Linked DNA regions of Homo sapiens: regions 2 and 3 are each linked to region 1. Evidence: promoter capture Hi-C in 16 types of primary human blood cells and fetal thymus (Javierre and others, 2016). All regions are on one chromosome and are shown on one strand. Each heading gives the region's core, a stretch centred on a gene start or on the middle of the fragment in contact. The rest is flanking DNA. Distances are from core to core; before and after follow the strand shown.

Region 1 (4,298 bases), core at 1,380-3,879:
TCACAGGAAGAGCTGTGCAGGCTAGTTTACAGGGGGAGACACAATGACAGCCCAAGAAAGGGGGAAATGGCCACACAAGGTCGGCCACCATGGTGGAGACTTAGGGAAAGCAATTTCTCTCCAAGCTTTGATTTCTTTCTTGGAGAACTGGCATAACCATCATTCTCCTAATTTACTCCCACCGCAGTGGTCAGGTGGGTTGAAAGAGAGAGGAGAGGGGGAGGACTGGGACCCTGGCGGCAAGGGATAGCCCCAGCTCCCGTTTGCCACATTTCTTGTTTTTATTTTGTTTTGGGATGAGGTCTTGCTCTGTTGCTCAGGCTGGAGTGCAGCGGCGTGATCTTGGCTCACTGCAACTTCTGCCTCCTGGGTTCAAGTGATTCTCCTGTCTCAGGCTCCCGAGTAGCTGGGATTACAGGCGTGTGTCACCATGCCCAGCTAATTTATATACATACATACATACATATATATATATATATATATATTTTTTTTTTGAGACGGAGTCTCGCTCTGTCGCCCAGGCTGGAGTGCAGTGGCGCGATCTCGGCTCACTGCAAGCTCCGCCTCCCAGGTTCACGCCATTCTTCTGCCTCAGCCTCCTGAGTAGCTGGGACTACAGGCGTCTGCCACCACGCCCAGCTAATTTTTTGTATTTTTAGTAGAGACGGGGTTTCACTGTGTTAGCCAGGATGGTCTTGATCTGACCTCGTGATCTGCCCACCTCAGCCTCCCAAAGTGCTGGGATCACAGGCGTGAGCCACCATGCCTGGCCTCTTTTCTTTTCTTTCTTTCTTTTTTTTTTTTAGATGACAGGGTCTCACTCTGCTGCCCAAGCTGGAATGCAGTGGTACCATCTCAGCTCACTGCAGCCTCTGCCTCCTGGGCTCAAGCGATCCTCTGGCCTCAGCCTCTCAAGTAGCTGGAAATACAGGTGCCCACCACCACGCCCGGCTTATTTTTGTATTTTTGGTAGAGATGAGGTTTCGCCATGTCACCCAGGCTGGTCTCAAACTCCTCACCTCTAGTGATCCGCCCACCTTGGCCTACTAGAGTGCTGGGATTGCAGGCGTGAGCCACCGCACCTGGCCAAGAGGACATCTTGAGCAAAGACGTGCCAGGGGTGGGAACGAAAGTCTCTGTCTCTGTCTCTGTCTCCATCTCTGTCTCGCATACACACACCACACACACTCACTGATTTCAGAACAACTCTCACCTCCAAGGCCCCCAACACCTGGAACTCCAAGCCCTCCGACTCCGAGTCCTCCGAGCCCAGCGGCTCCCACTAGGCCTGTGGAGACAGCTGAGCATTAGACTCCGCTGGTCAGAAAGGTGGGACTGAAGCCTCGGCCTGTGGAGGGCGGAGGTGTCCTCTGGGGACACAGGTGGAGCCTGAGGTCTCCCCTGGCCTTCGATGGCACAGTGGAGCCAGGAGGTGTCTGGGGCAGGGACTCTGAGTCTACAGTGCCTGGTCAGAAGCTCCTCCCACACCCTGGGGGCCTGGGGGCCTGGCGGCAGCTCCCACCTCCACCCAGTGCTCACCAAACTGGGCGGCTTTGGCAGCAGCTTTGGCTGCGGCAGCGGCGGCGGCGGGTCCGGCTCCTGGGAACACAGACCGAGTTCAGGGAGGCACTCTGTACTGGTTAGATTCCCTCCCCACCCTGCCCCTCCTGGGGTTTCAACTCACCCACCACACCGCCTGGGATGCCTACTCCACCGAGAGCCCCGAGCCCTCCAAGGACCCCAGGCACTGCTGCTCCTGCGGGGAGAGGAGGGAAAATGAGTGTTCCATTTCTGAACGATGGGTCTCCCTGCCCCAGGGACACAAGGCAAGCAGACAGGTGGCAGGGGCCATGTGACACTGTGGAGGAGCAGTGGACAGGAAGTCCAGTCCATATTTTGTTTCATTTTGAGATGGGGTTTTGCTCTGTCACCCCGGCTGGAGTGCAGTGGTACAATCATAGTTCACTGCAGCCTCCAACTCCTGGGCTCATGCGATCCTCCTGCCTTAGCCTCCCGAAGGTGTGAACCACTGTGCCTGGCCTTAAAAGTTCTTTTGTAAGCCGGGTGCGGTGGCTCACACCTGTAATCCCAGCACTTTGGGAGGCTGAGGCTAGTGGATCACCTGAGGTCAGGAGTTTGAGACCAGCCTGGCCAACACGGTGAAACCCTGTTTCTACGAAAAATACAAAAATTAGCCAGGCGTGGTGGCGGGCGCCTGTAATCCCAGCTACTTGGAAGGCTGAGGCAGGAGAATCACTTGAACCCGGGAGATGGAGGCTGCAGGGAGCCAAGATCGTACCACTGCATTCCAGCCTGGGCGACAGAGCAAGACTCTGTCAAAACAAACAAACAAACAAACAAACAACGGTAATAGTATCTACAGCAGGCACTTAACATTTTGAGTGCTTCACACTTAGCAGCCCATTTTTTATGCATTGCAGCAGGAAAGGTAGGCACTATTGTCATTCCCATTTTGCAGATGAGAACGCTGAGGCAGAGCAGAGGTTAAGCAGTGTGCTCAGGGCTTCAGGGACGGGAAGTGGCTGGGGAGCCTGCGCCCTTCGCGGCTCCACCACATGACGTCACTCTGTTTCCCTGGCAATGTCTGTTGACTCAGGCCTGCCAAGCAGTCAGCAGTGAGCAGGGGAGGAGGCCAGGGCTGCTGGGGGTCGGCGCTGAGGAAGCCAGGATTTTCCGAGGTAGAAACTGGCCCCAAGTGGACCTGCCCGGCTGGTTGGTGGATCCCTGGGGGAGTCTTCCACCTCCCACCAACGCTGCTCACAGGAGGCCAGGAATTCAGGGGCTACAGACAGCGTGGGTCTGGCCAGGCAGGGCTGCCAGAGCGCCAAGTGCAGAGGCTGTGGGACTGCCACGTCCTCTGGGCTGGCTCGTGGTGGGAGCGGTCCTGCTGGCAGGACAGGAAGGCGGGCGGGGGCCCGGGGTGCCCAGATGAGGAATACCAGCTCCTTTGCTCGGGCCAGAGAGCTGGGGTGGAGGCAGAGACTGCCCAGACTCCTCATACCCACAGCAGGCCCAGTCCCTTCCTGGACACAGGGACCATGTAACTGTCAGGGTCAGGGCAAGCTTAGGGATGGTGGAATTGCCTCCTGGGGGGCAACTGGGATTTCAAGGGTGTTTTTGGTGGTCACAGGGGTTGAAGGCACCATAAGCATTTAGTGGGCAGGGGCCAGGTTTTTAAACTGTCATAAACGTGTCCTAGAAACTGCCTTTTTCTTTTTCTTTTCTTTTCTTTTTTTGAGATACAGTCTCGCTCTGTCGTCCAGGCCGGAGTGCAGTGGCGTGATCTCGGCTCACTGCAACCTCCATCTCCTGGGTTCAAGCGATTCTCCTGCCTCAGCCTCCCGAGTAGCTGGGATTACAGGTGCCCGCCACCACACCTGGCTAATTTTTGTGTTTTTAGTAGAGATGGGGTTTCACCATATTGGTCAGGCTGGTCTGGAACCCCCGACCTCAGTTGATCTGCCCACCTCGGCCTCCCAAAGTGCTGGGATTACAGGTGCCCGCCACCACGCCTGGCTAATTTTTGAATTTTTAGTAGAGATGGGGTTTAACCATATTGTTCAGGCTGGTCTGGAACTCCTGACCTCAGGTGATCTGCCTGCCTCGGCCTCCCAAAGTGCTGGGATTACAGGTGTGAGCCACCACGCCCGGCCGAAACTGCCTTTTTCTATTGTGACCACCCCAGTCCTGTGCTGTCAGGGATGGTGTGGTGGCAAGGGAGCCACAAGTGGTTGTGGGGTGCACTCACCATATTTGGCTGCTTTAGCGGCAGCCAGGGCTCCAGGTACTGGGGAGAAAGAAAAGTTGGGGAGTGGTCAGGAGCCGAGCTCTGTGCCTGGGAGTTCTGCCGCCTCCTCTAGAGAGCCCTCCCTGACTTCCTTGGCCTCTATTGCTTCCTCAAAGCCCTGAAGCTGTACAGGCACAGAGCTTTAGGGCTGAACAGTGCCTCCACCTTCCGTCTGCCCCTTCCTTCTCTCCCCAGGCCTAGCATGGACTGCCTGAGGCTGGGCACAGAGTGGGGCTCAGTCACCAGCTGGTGAAGAACTGGAGTTCCTAGTGGTCCCCTGGCCACAGAGCACTGCTGAAGGGGAGCCAGGCTGATCTACCTGCTCCTTCCCTGGTTGGAGGGCAGGCTTTTTCTCAGTCTGGAGCCCTGCCACCCCTCTACTGAGGAGGCAGATACTCTGCAATTGGGCAGCCTGGGGTCCCTTGGCCTGGTCTGCCCTCCTCCCGCTATCTGTTACCCCCAGATGCTTAGGAGAACCTAACAAGGATTT
Region 2 (4,298 bases), core at 789-3,288, 360 kb before region 1:
CAAGTGAGCCTCCTGCTTCAGCCTCCCAGAGTGCTAGGATTACAGGCATGAGCCACCGCACCTGGCCCATATTTATTTTCTGAACAAGAGATAAACTTTCAAGTAAAGAGGACTGAAATAAAAGAAAGAAAGAAGGAAGGAAAGAAAGAACAAACGAAAGAAAGAAAGAAAGAAAGAAAGAAAGAAAGAAAGAAAGAAAGAAAGAAAGAAAAACAGCTTTATTTATTTATTTATTATTTATTTATTTGAGACAGGGTCTCGCTCTGTCATCCAGGCTGGAGGGCAGTGGCATGATCATGGCTCACTGCAGCCTCGGCCTCCTGGACTCAGGTGATCCTCCCACGTCAGCCTCCCCAGTAGCTGGGATTACAGACATGTGCCGCCATGCCTGGGGTTTCACCATGTTGCCCAGGCTGGTCTCGAACTCCTAAGCTCAAGCAATCCTCCCGCCTCGACCTCCCAAAGTGCCAGATTACAGGTGTGAGCCACCATGTCCAGTACAGAAAAGTTGTTTTAAAGAAAACAATTCTGGGTGGATCACCTGAGGTTAGGAGTTGAGACCAGCCTAACCAACATGGTGAAACCCTGACTCTACTAAAAATACAAAATTAGCTGGGCGTGGTGGCGCATGCCTGTAATCCCAGCTACTTGGGAGGCTGAGGCAGGAGAATCGCTTGAACACGGGAAGCAGAGGTTGCAGTGAACAGAGATTGCGCCACTGCACTCCAGCTTGGGTGACAGAGCGGGACTCCACTTCAAAATAAAGAAGGAAAAAGAAAGAAAGAAAAAGAGATAAAGGAAGGGAGGAAAGAGAAAGAAAGAAAGAGAGAGAAAGAGAGAAAGAAAGAGAAAGAAGAAAGAGAAAGAAAGAAGGAAGGAAAGAAAAAGAAAGAAAAAAGAAAGAAAGAAAGGAAAGAAAGAAAAAGAAAGAAAGAAGGAAAGAAAGAAAGTGGGTGGGCAGAAAGGAAGGAGGCAGGGAGGGAGGAGGGAAGGAAGAAGAGAAGGAGGGAGGGAGGGAAGGAGGGAGGGAGGGAAGGAGGGAGGGAGGGAAGGAAGGAAGGAAATCAATTAATTAATAGAGTTACTAAAAAATATTGAATAAATAAATGAAGAAAACTATAGCCAAAAGCTTGAACATTTCGGATCAAGATGGTCAAATAAACTCAAATTACAAAAAAAAAAAAAAAAAAACAAAAATGAGGACAATTAGATGACTTGGAAAGGGTACAGAAAGAGGACAGTTTGTCAGGATGCGGGGGCAACCTGGCAGTGTCTGGAGCTCTGGGAGAGCAGTTGAGGTGGAGTGCAAGATTGAAGATGGAAGTTTGTGCAGTGGTGGAATTGATCAATCCGTCTGACAGCCACTCGTGGGCACCTGTGTGCCACGCCCTGGGCTGAGAGTCAGAGATGTGGGGGTGGCAGTGGTGGCTCATGCCTGTAATCCCAGCAATCTAGGAGGCTGAGACAGGCCAATCGTTTGAGCCCAAGAGTTCGAGACCAGCCTGGGCAACATGGCAAAACCCCATCTCTCTAAAAATACAAACAATTAGCTGGGCATGGTGGTGCACACCTGTAGTCCCAGCTACTTGGAAGGCTGAGGCAGGAGGACGGCTTGAGCCCAGAGATGAAGGCTGCAGTGAGCTGATTGCACCACTGCACTCCAGCCTGGGCAACAGAGTGAGACTCTGTCACACACACACAAGGAAAAAAACACACAAAAATTTCAGTTAGGAGGACTAAGTTCAAGAGATCCAAGTACAACATGGTGGCTATCCTTGATAACAATGTGTTCTAAACTTGCAAAGTACCAAGACAGTGGATTTTAAGCGTTCTCAGCACACTCCCCACAAAAAGACAAATGAGGTAATGCATATGCTAATTAGCTTGATGTAGCTGGTCCACACTTTATACATATTTCAAAACATCATATTGCACACCATAAATAGATACAATTTTTGTCAATTTAAAAAAAGAGGTTAGAGATATGTTGCGGTGCACACAGAGCACTCCCCTCTAGGGAGAGAGGTGTGAATCAAGTCCCCGATGGGCGCGTCTCTGCAGGCCGTGAAGAAAAAGTGTGTGTGTGTGCATGTGTGTATGTGTGCACAAGTGTGGATGTATATGCATGTATATGCGTGTGTGTATGTGTATGTGTATGTATATTGTTTGTGTGTATATATGTGCATGTTTGTGTATGTGAGTATACATCTCTTTGTGTGTAACGTGTGTATGTGCGTGTGTACCTGTGTACATGTGTATATGTGTACATGTATGTGTGTCTGTGTGTATGTGTATTTGTCCGTGTGTACATGTGTCTGTAGTGTTTGTGTGTCTGTGTATGTACGTGTTTGTGTATGTGTATGAGTTTTTGTGTATGTGTACGTATTTGTGTGTGTCTGTGTACGTGTCTATAGTGTTTGTGTATGTATGTGTTTGTGTATGTATATGTGTATGCATGTGTGTACGTGTGTACATGTATGTGTGTACGTGTGTGCATGTTTATATGTGTCTCTGTGTGCGTGTATATATATATGATGTGTACATGTATGTGTGTCTCTGTGTATGTGTGTATGTATCTGTGTGTGTGTGCCCATGCATGTGTGTGGGTCACTTGGAAAGGCCTGGGGGTGTGGGGTTGGAGGCAGGATCTGAGGCCTGAGCTGGGGGTGGGGGACAGGGCCCAGAGTGTGATGAATATGATGGACCCCAGGCTGCGGACCCGGTGCGGGGCTGTGAAGGTGCTCCTGGTGAACTCCAGGCTTGGGGCTGCTGGGAAACCGAGGCACAGCTGTGCGTGGGGCCAGCTGGAAATTGTGGCAGCGGGAGAGGGTGGCTGGGAGGGGGTCTAGACGGGGCTGGAGCCACCCTGGAGGCAGCAAGTCCTTCCCTTTGCTGGTAGCTCCAGAGAAAGGGCCCACAGCCTTACCCAAGGTTCCAGAGAAGCTTCTAGAAGTGAGCATCCTGGTTATTCGTCCTATACCATGTTCCTTCTGAATTTACACTGGACCCCAACTTCAGTCTCAAAACACTTCCCAGCCTCTCTTGGGGAGTGGGAGCGGGACCAGGGTGACTGCCCAGCTGAGGTTGGCAAGGGGGACGTGATGGGAGGGTTCAGGACTGAGAAAGTAGGCCAGGGTCAGCTCTGTGGAGGGAGCCCAGCCTGCGGGGAGGGGAGGCAGTGCTGTGCGGGAGGAGGGAGGCCAGGACAGTCCTGGCCCGGCACGGTCCCAGAGAGGGAATGAATGTCCACGCCCTGGCCGGCCTCTCTCCCAGGGATGGAAGTGTGGACACACACGGATACTCACAGAGAGGCCTGAACCAAGTCTGGGAGGCAACAGGGACAGGGAGCTCTGGGACTAGGAGCCGGGACACCTGGGTCCCCGTTGTTGCTCCCACGTGCAAAGCTGGCCTGTGTCTCCAGCCTTGCAGCCCTAAAGCCCAGTCTGGACAGAGGGTGGAATGGACAAGCCGCAGTGAGAGGGCCGAGGGTGACACCTGCTGGTAAATGGGAGGCATCACAGGCAAGACTTGGCTGGTGGGTCTCTTGCCGCCCAGGGGTGCGTGGTGTCACCCACCCTCCAGCCTCCCCTCCTGTTCTTCACCCCAGGACCCCACAAAAGGAGAAGGCAAATGTTTCCCGATCAGACCTGGAGGGTTTGATCAATGTCTCCCTCTCAGGCAGAGCAAAGAGAAGTGGGGCAAGAGAAGTCCCAGTTTATTTTTTTGAGACGGGGTCTTGCTCTGTCATCCAGGCTGGAGTGCAGCGGGGCTCACTGCAACCTCCGCCTCCTGGGCTCAAGCCATTCTCCTGCCTCAGCCAACCAAGTAGCTGGGATTACAGGCGCCTGCCGCCACGCCCGGCTAATTTTTGTATTTTTAGTAGAGATGGGTTTTCACCCTGTTAGCCAGGCTGGTCTAGAACTCCTGACCTCAAATGATCTGCCTGCCTTGGCCTCCCAAAGTGCTGGAATTACAGGCATGAGCCACTGTGCCTGGCTAATTTTTGTATGTTTAGTAGAGACAGGGTTTCACCATGTTGGCCAGGCTGGTCTCAAATTCCTGACCTCAGGTGATCTGCCCTCCTCGGCCTCCCAAAGTGCTGGGATTACAGGCGTGAGCCACCGCGCCTGGCCTAGAAGTCCCGGTTTCTGAGCTTCCCTCAACATGAGACAGACACTGTGTTGGAGGGGGAGGGTTGCAGCAGTGGTTGTCGCCATAACCCCATGCCATGGAGATGCCTTCCAAAGGCCAGTACTGTGAACCTTGGGGCGGAAGGGTCATGAGGACACCCCGCCCCC
Region 3 (4,298 bases), core at 1,308-3,807, 320 kb before region 1:
AGCTGAAAGAATGGAAGATATGGTACCATTTGTGTCACTTGCTTGCTCGTACCTGCACAAAATATTTCTGGAAAGGGGATATAAAGAAGCTAACACTGCGCCTTCAGGGAGGGAAGAATAGAGAACAGTGAAGAGTTAGTTTGCCATATGCCCTTTGAACCATTTGAAGTTTAGACCTGTTTTTAAAGTTTAAACCAGCTAGGCACGGTGGCTCATGCCTGTAATCCCAACACTTCGGGAGGCCAAGGCGGGCGGATCACGCAGTCAGGAGATCGAGACCACCCTGGTCAACATGGTGAAACCCCGTCTCTACTAAAAATACAAAAATTAGCTGGGCATGGTGGTGCATGCCTGTAATCCCAGCTACTCGGGAGGCTGAGGCAGGAGAATCGCTTGAACCAGGGAGTTGGAGGTTGCAGTGAGCTGAGATCACACCACTGTACTCCAGCCTGGCGACAGAGCGAAACTCCGTCTAAAATAAATAAATAAATAAAAGTAAAGTATAAACTAAATAAATAAATAAAAATAAAATATAAACCAAACAAATAATAAGGTTTGATATTCCATTAAGTTTACTATTCCGTTAAATCTGTTTCAAAAGAAAAAGAAAAAAAAGACAGCAACTTGGAAGGCTGGTGCAATGCCTATCCCTCCGTAAACTGGCCTCCTCCCTTGCAGGAGTACATAGCTCACAGCACACAGGAGGTGACTCTTACCAAATGGCAGATGATGCAAACCAAAATGTGACCCAGCAGGAAGGCAGAGCCAGCCAGCCTCTTCCCAGAGCCCAGAGTCCCGCCCGGCCTGGTGGCCACTCACCCTCCACAGTTTCCTTCGTCCTGATCGTCTCCTCTGAAATGTCATTCGACTCAATCATCTGCAAAAAGAGCCCCTGTAAGGGGGATGCTCACCTCTGCCCCTTGGCCCCAGCCCCAGCCAGCCCAGCAAGCACACCTGCAGTTTGCACACCCTACTCCTACAAAGGGGGACCTCAGTGACGGACTCAGGGACTTGCTGCGGTGGCAGGGAGTGCAGACGTCCTCAGTCGGACCTCCCTGACAACAGAGGACCCCCATTCTGCACCCAGCTCTGCTGAAGGCCGCCTGTGCAGCTTATACATGAATACCTCCTACCCTTCCTTTGTTGAAAATGTTTATTATATTAAACAGATGGCTCCTTCCCTGCAATGCCTACAGAAATTTGTCCTGGGAATTTGTTTCTCTGTCTCCCAGAGACAAGACTTCTGGCCTCAGTTTCCCATCCATCAAACAAATATTGGCTGCTTTGGGTTAGTGTGTGCACAGCGTGCTTGGGGCCACCTCCTGGAGGGACTTCATTAAATGCTAGCTTCTTTCTCTCCAACATTTCTTTTTAATAATAAACCCAGAGGCCAAAGAAGAAAAGACCTATTAAAAAAAAAAATCAGCCTGGCACACATCACTATGACAAAAGTCAAAACACAACCAATAGGCTCCCTGCCACTCTTGGCAGGAGTTTCCAGTCTCCTGCCCAGGCTGGCTGTCCTCCGAGCCAGCCAGAGTCTGGCACTGCAGATCAGGGAAGCACAGAGCTGAGTAGGCAGTCACCTCTATCATCCTGCCCCTCATACTTCTGTTCATACATCCCAAGTCCCATTTGAGTCTCAATTAGTTGTAATGAACTAAGCCCCTTGGATCATAATTTATATACGATGCAGTAATGAGGCTCACACTAAATTTTTCTTTTTCTTTTTTTTTGAGAAGGAGTCTCGCCCTGATATCCAGGCTAGAGTGCAATGGCTCAATCTCAGCTCACTGCAACCTCCACCTCCCGGGTTCAAGCGATTCTCCTGCCTCGGCCTCCCGAGCGAGTAGCTGGGATTACAGGTGCCCACCACCACGCCCAGCTAATTTTGGGGTTTTTTTATTATTATTTTTTGAGATGGAGTCTCACTCCGTCGCCCAGGCTGGAGTGCAGTGGCGTGATCTCGGCTCACTGCAACCTCTGCCTCCAGGACTCTGAAGCGATTCTCCTGCCTCAGCCTCCCGAGTAGCTGGGACTACAGGCGCCCGCCACCATGCCCGGCTAATTTTTTGTATTTTTAGTAGAGACGGGTTTTCACCATGTTGGCCAGGCTGGTCTCAAACTCCTGACCTCAGGTGATCCACCTGCCTTGGCATCCCAAAGTGCTGGGATTACAGGTGTGAGCCACAGCACCTGGCCACTAAAATAATTTTTAAAATTCCCATATTTACTACCTGAGACCAAAAGTCCAGTTGTGCTTAGGCCTAAACCTCTGAACATGGGGACATATGCGTTTAGACTAAGCCCCAGTGTATACAGAAAATCAAGAGATGGGCTTTTTTTTTTTTTTCCAGACGGAGTCTCCCTCTGTTGCCCAGGCCGGAGTGCAGTGGCACGATCTTGGCTCACTGCAACCTCCACGTCCCGGGTTCAAGTAATCCTTGTGCCTCAGCCTCCTGAGTAGCTGGGATTACAGGTGTGAGCCACCGCGCCCGGCCAGGAGATGGGCTTTCTGGGGCCACTACTACTTCTTGGTCCAAGGGCACCTGTGAATGAGGGGCAGGGACTGGGGGAGGCATCCTCAGGCCTCTGTCCCCCATGCTCTGTGGAACCACAGCAACCTCAAACCTCCCCGCTCAGGGAATTCAGTTCCTGAGTTGCAGGCTGTTTCTGCCTGCCCTGAACAGCTAATCAGGCCATGTGCACGTAAGCTAATTTGGGTTTCTTCCTTTTCTTTCAGCCCAGGATCCTGGAAGAGCACTTGCTAAAAAACAAAATCCCTTCCTGGGAGAAGGGGCAGGAAGGCCATTACAAGGGACCTCAAGGCATGATGCAAAAAGATTTCCTTTTAGACAAAAAAAGCCCCCTGGATTCATTAGTCCTGAGAACTTACTGCCCACATGCTAAATTCTCGGGTTTTTTTGGTTTGTGTATTTTCTTGAGTCACAGCCTCACACTGTCACTCAGGCTGGAGTGCAGTGGTGCAATCATAGCTCACTGCAGCCTCAAACACCTGGGCTCAAGTGATCCTCTTGCCTCAGCCTCCAGCGTAGCTGGGGACTACAGGTACACTACCACTGTACTCGGCTAATTTTTTATTTTTGTAGAGATGGGGTCTAACTATGTTGTCCAGGCTGGTCTCAAACTCCTGGCCTGAAGCAATCCTCCTGCCTCAGCCTCTCGAAATGCTGGAATTATAGGTGTGAGCCACCACACCCACCCCTAAATTCTGGTTTGAATATACATGAGGGTGGTCAGGTGCAGTACCTACTCCCTGTAATCCCAGCACTTTGGGAGGCAAAGGCGGGCAGACAGCTTGAGCCCAGGAGTTTGAGACCAGCCTGGGCAACATGAGGAAACCCCATCTCTACAAAAACTATAAAAATTAGCCAGGTGTGGTGGGGCACACCTGTGGTCCTGGCGACTTGGAAGGCTGAAGTGGGAGGCTCGCTCAAGCCTGGGAGGTTGAGACTGTAGTGAGCCATGATCATGCCACTGCACTCCAGCCTGGGAGACAGAACAAGACCCTGTCTCAAAAACAAAACCAAAAAAAAGGCCAGGGATGGTGCCTCACGCCTGTAATCCCAGCACTTTGGGAGGCCGAGGCGGGCAGATCACCTGAAGTCAGGAGTTTGAGACCAGCCTGGACTACCTGGCGAAACCCCACCTCTACTAAAAATATAAGAATTAGCTGGGCGTGGTGGTGCATGCCTGTAATTGCAGCTACTTGGGAGGCTGATACAGGAGAATTGCTTGAACCTGGGAGGCGGAGGTTGCAGTGAGCCGAGATCCCACCACTGCACTCCAGCCTGGGCAACAAGAGCAAAACTCCATCTCAAAAAAAAAAAAAATGTATGTGGGGGAACTGGAAACTCAAGAATCTCTGAGTACAATTTGTATACAGGCAAGAGTCCGTTGCTAGCCATCCCTCCTATGAATTAATTCCTGTTGTCTTGGGCACTCTCTGTCAGCCCCACAGGGAATGGGGTTGAACATCTCTGCCACTGAGAGGCTGTGGACCTGGGAAAGTCTTGGTTTGCTCACCTGTGAAATGGAGCCAGTATCAATCTAAGGATGTTAAGGTGAAATGGAGTCACATAGGGCCTGGCATAAGACGTGGTACCCAGAGCCACTCAAAAGGCCCTTCCTGGCCCTGGTGGAGTGGGCACAGCCCACCTGGGTGTTGACCTCCTCAGAGGGGCTGGGAGGATGGGTTCAGCTGAAGGAAGAAGGGGTAGATGCTTAAGGAATTTCTAGATTTGGAGCAAAATTGACATTGGTGACAGCGACCTCTT

Evidence for each region. The method cuts DNA at HindIII sites, captures the fragments that hold promoters and counts their contacts. A CHiCAGO score of 5 or more calls a contact.
Region 2: a contact is called between a fragment that was not itself captured here and the fragment with the promoter of ELN-AS1 in region 1, in 2 of 17 cell types (naive B cells and neutrophils). The highest score is 8.3, in naive B cells.
Region 3: a fragment that was not itself captured here is called in contact with the fragment with the promoter of ELN-AS1 in region 1 in 5 of 17 cell types (neutrophils, total B cells, naive B cells and 2 more); the score reaches 13.7 in neutrophils.

What each region holds. Positions count from the first base shown.
Region 1 is chr7:74,060,611-74,064,908 of GRCh38, reverse strand. It overlaps ELN-AS1 (ELN antisense RNA 1), which reads left to right and starts at 2,629. Exons shown (of 2, transcript NR_183555.1): 1 at 2,629-2,699. It overlaps ELN (elastin), which reads right to left. Exons shown (of 33, transcript NM_000501.4): 26 at 3,770-3,808; 27 at 1,685-1,756; 28 at 1,540-1,599; 29 at 1,214-1,288. RefSeq lists a silencer at 2,461-2,653 and enhancers at 2,456-2,750, 2,294-2,794, 2,795-3,295. The HindIII fragment of the contact is 2,959 bases long and covers 128-3,086 here.
Region 2 is chr7:74,416,768-74,421,065 of GRCh38, reverse strand. No RefSeq gene overlaps it. Among named protein-coding and RNA genes, the nearest start is that of GTF2IRD1, 35 kb to the left of the region's middle. RefSeq lists a silencer at 3,441-3,570. The HindIII fragment of the contact is 1,814 bases long and covers 1,132-2,945 here.
Region 3 is chr7:74,377,385-74,381,682 of GRCh38, reverse strand. It overlaps CLIP2 (CAP-Gly domain containing linker protein 2), which reads right to left. Exons shown (of 17, transcript NM_003388.5): 11 at 820-877. Among named protein-coding and RNA genes, the nearest start is that of GTF2IRD1, 74 kb to the left of the region's middle. RefSeq lists enhancers at 382-882, 883-1,383. The HindIII fragment of the contact is 8,624 bases long and covers 1-4,298 here.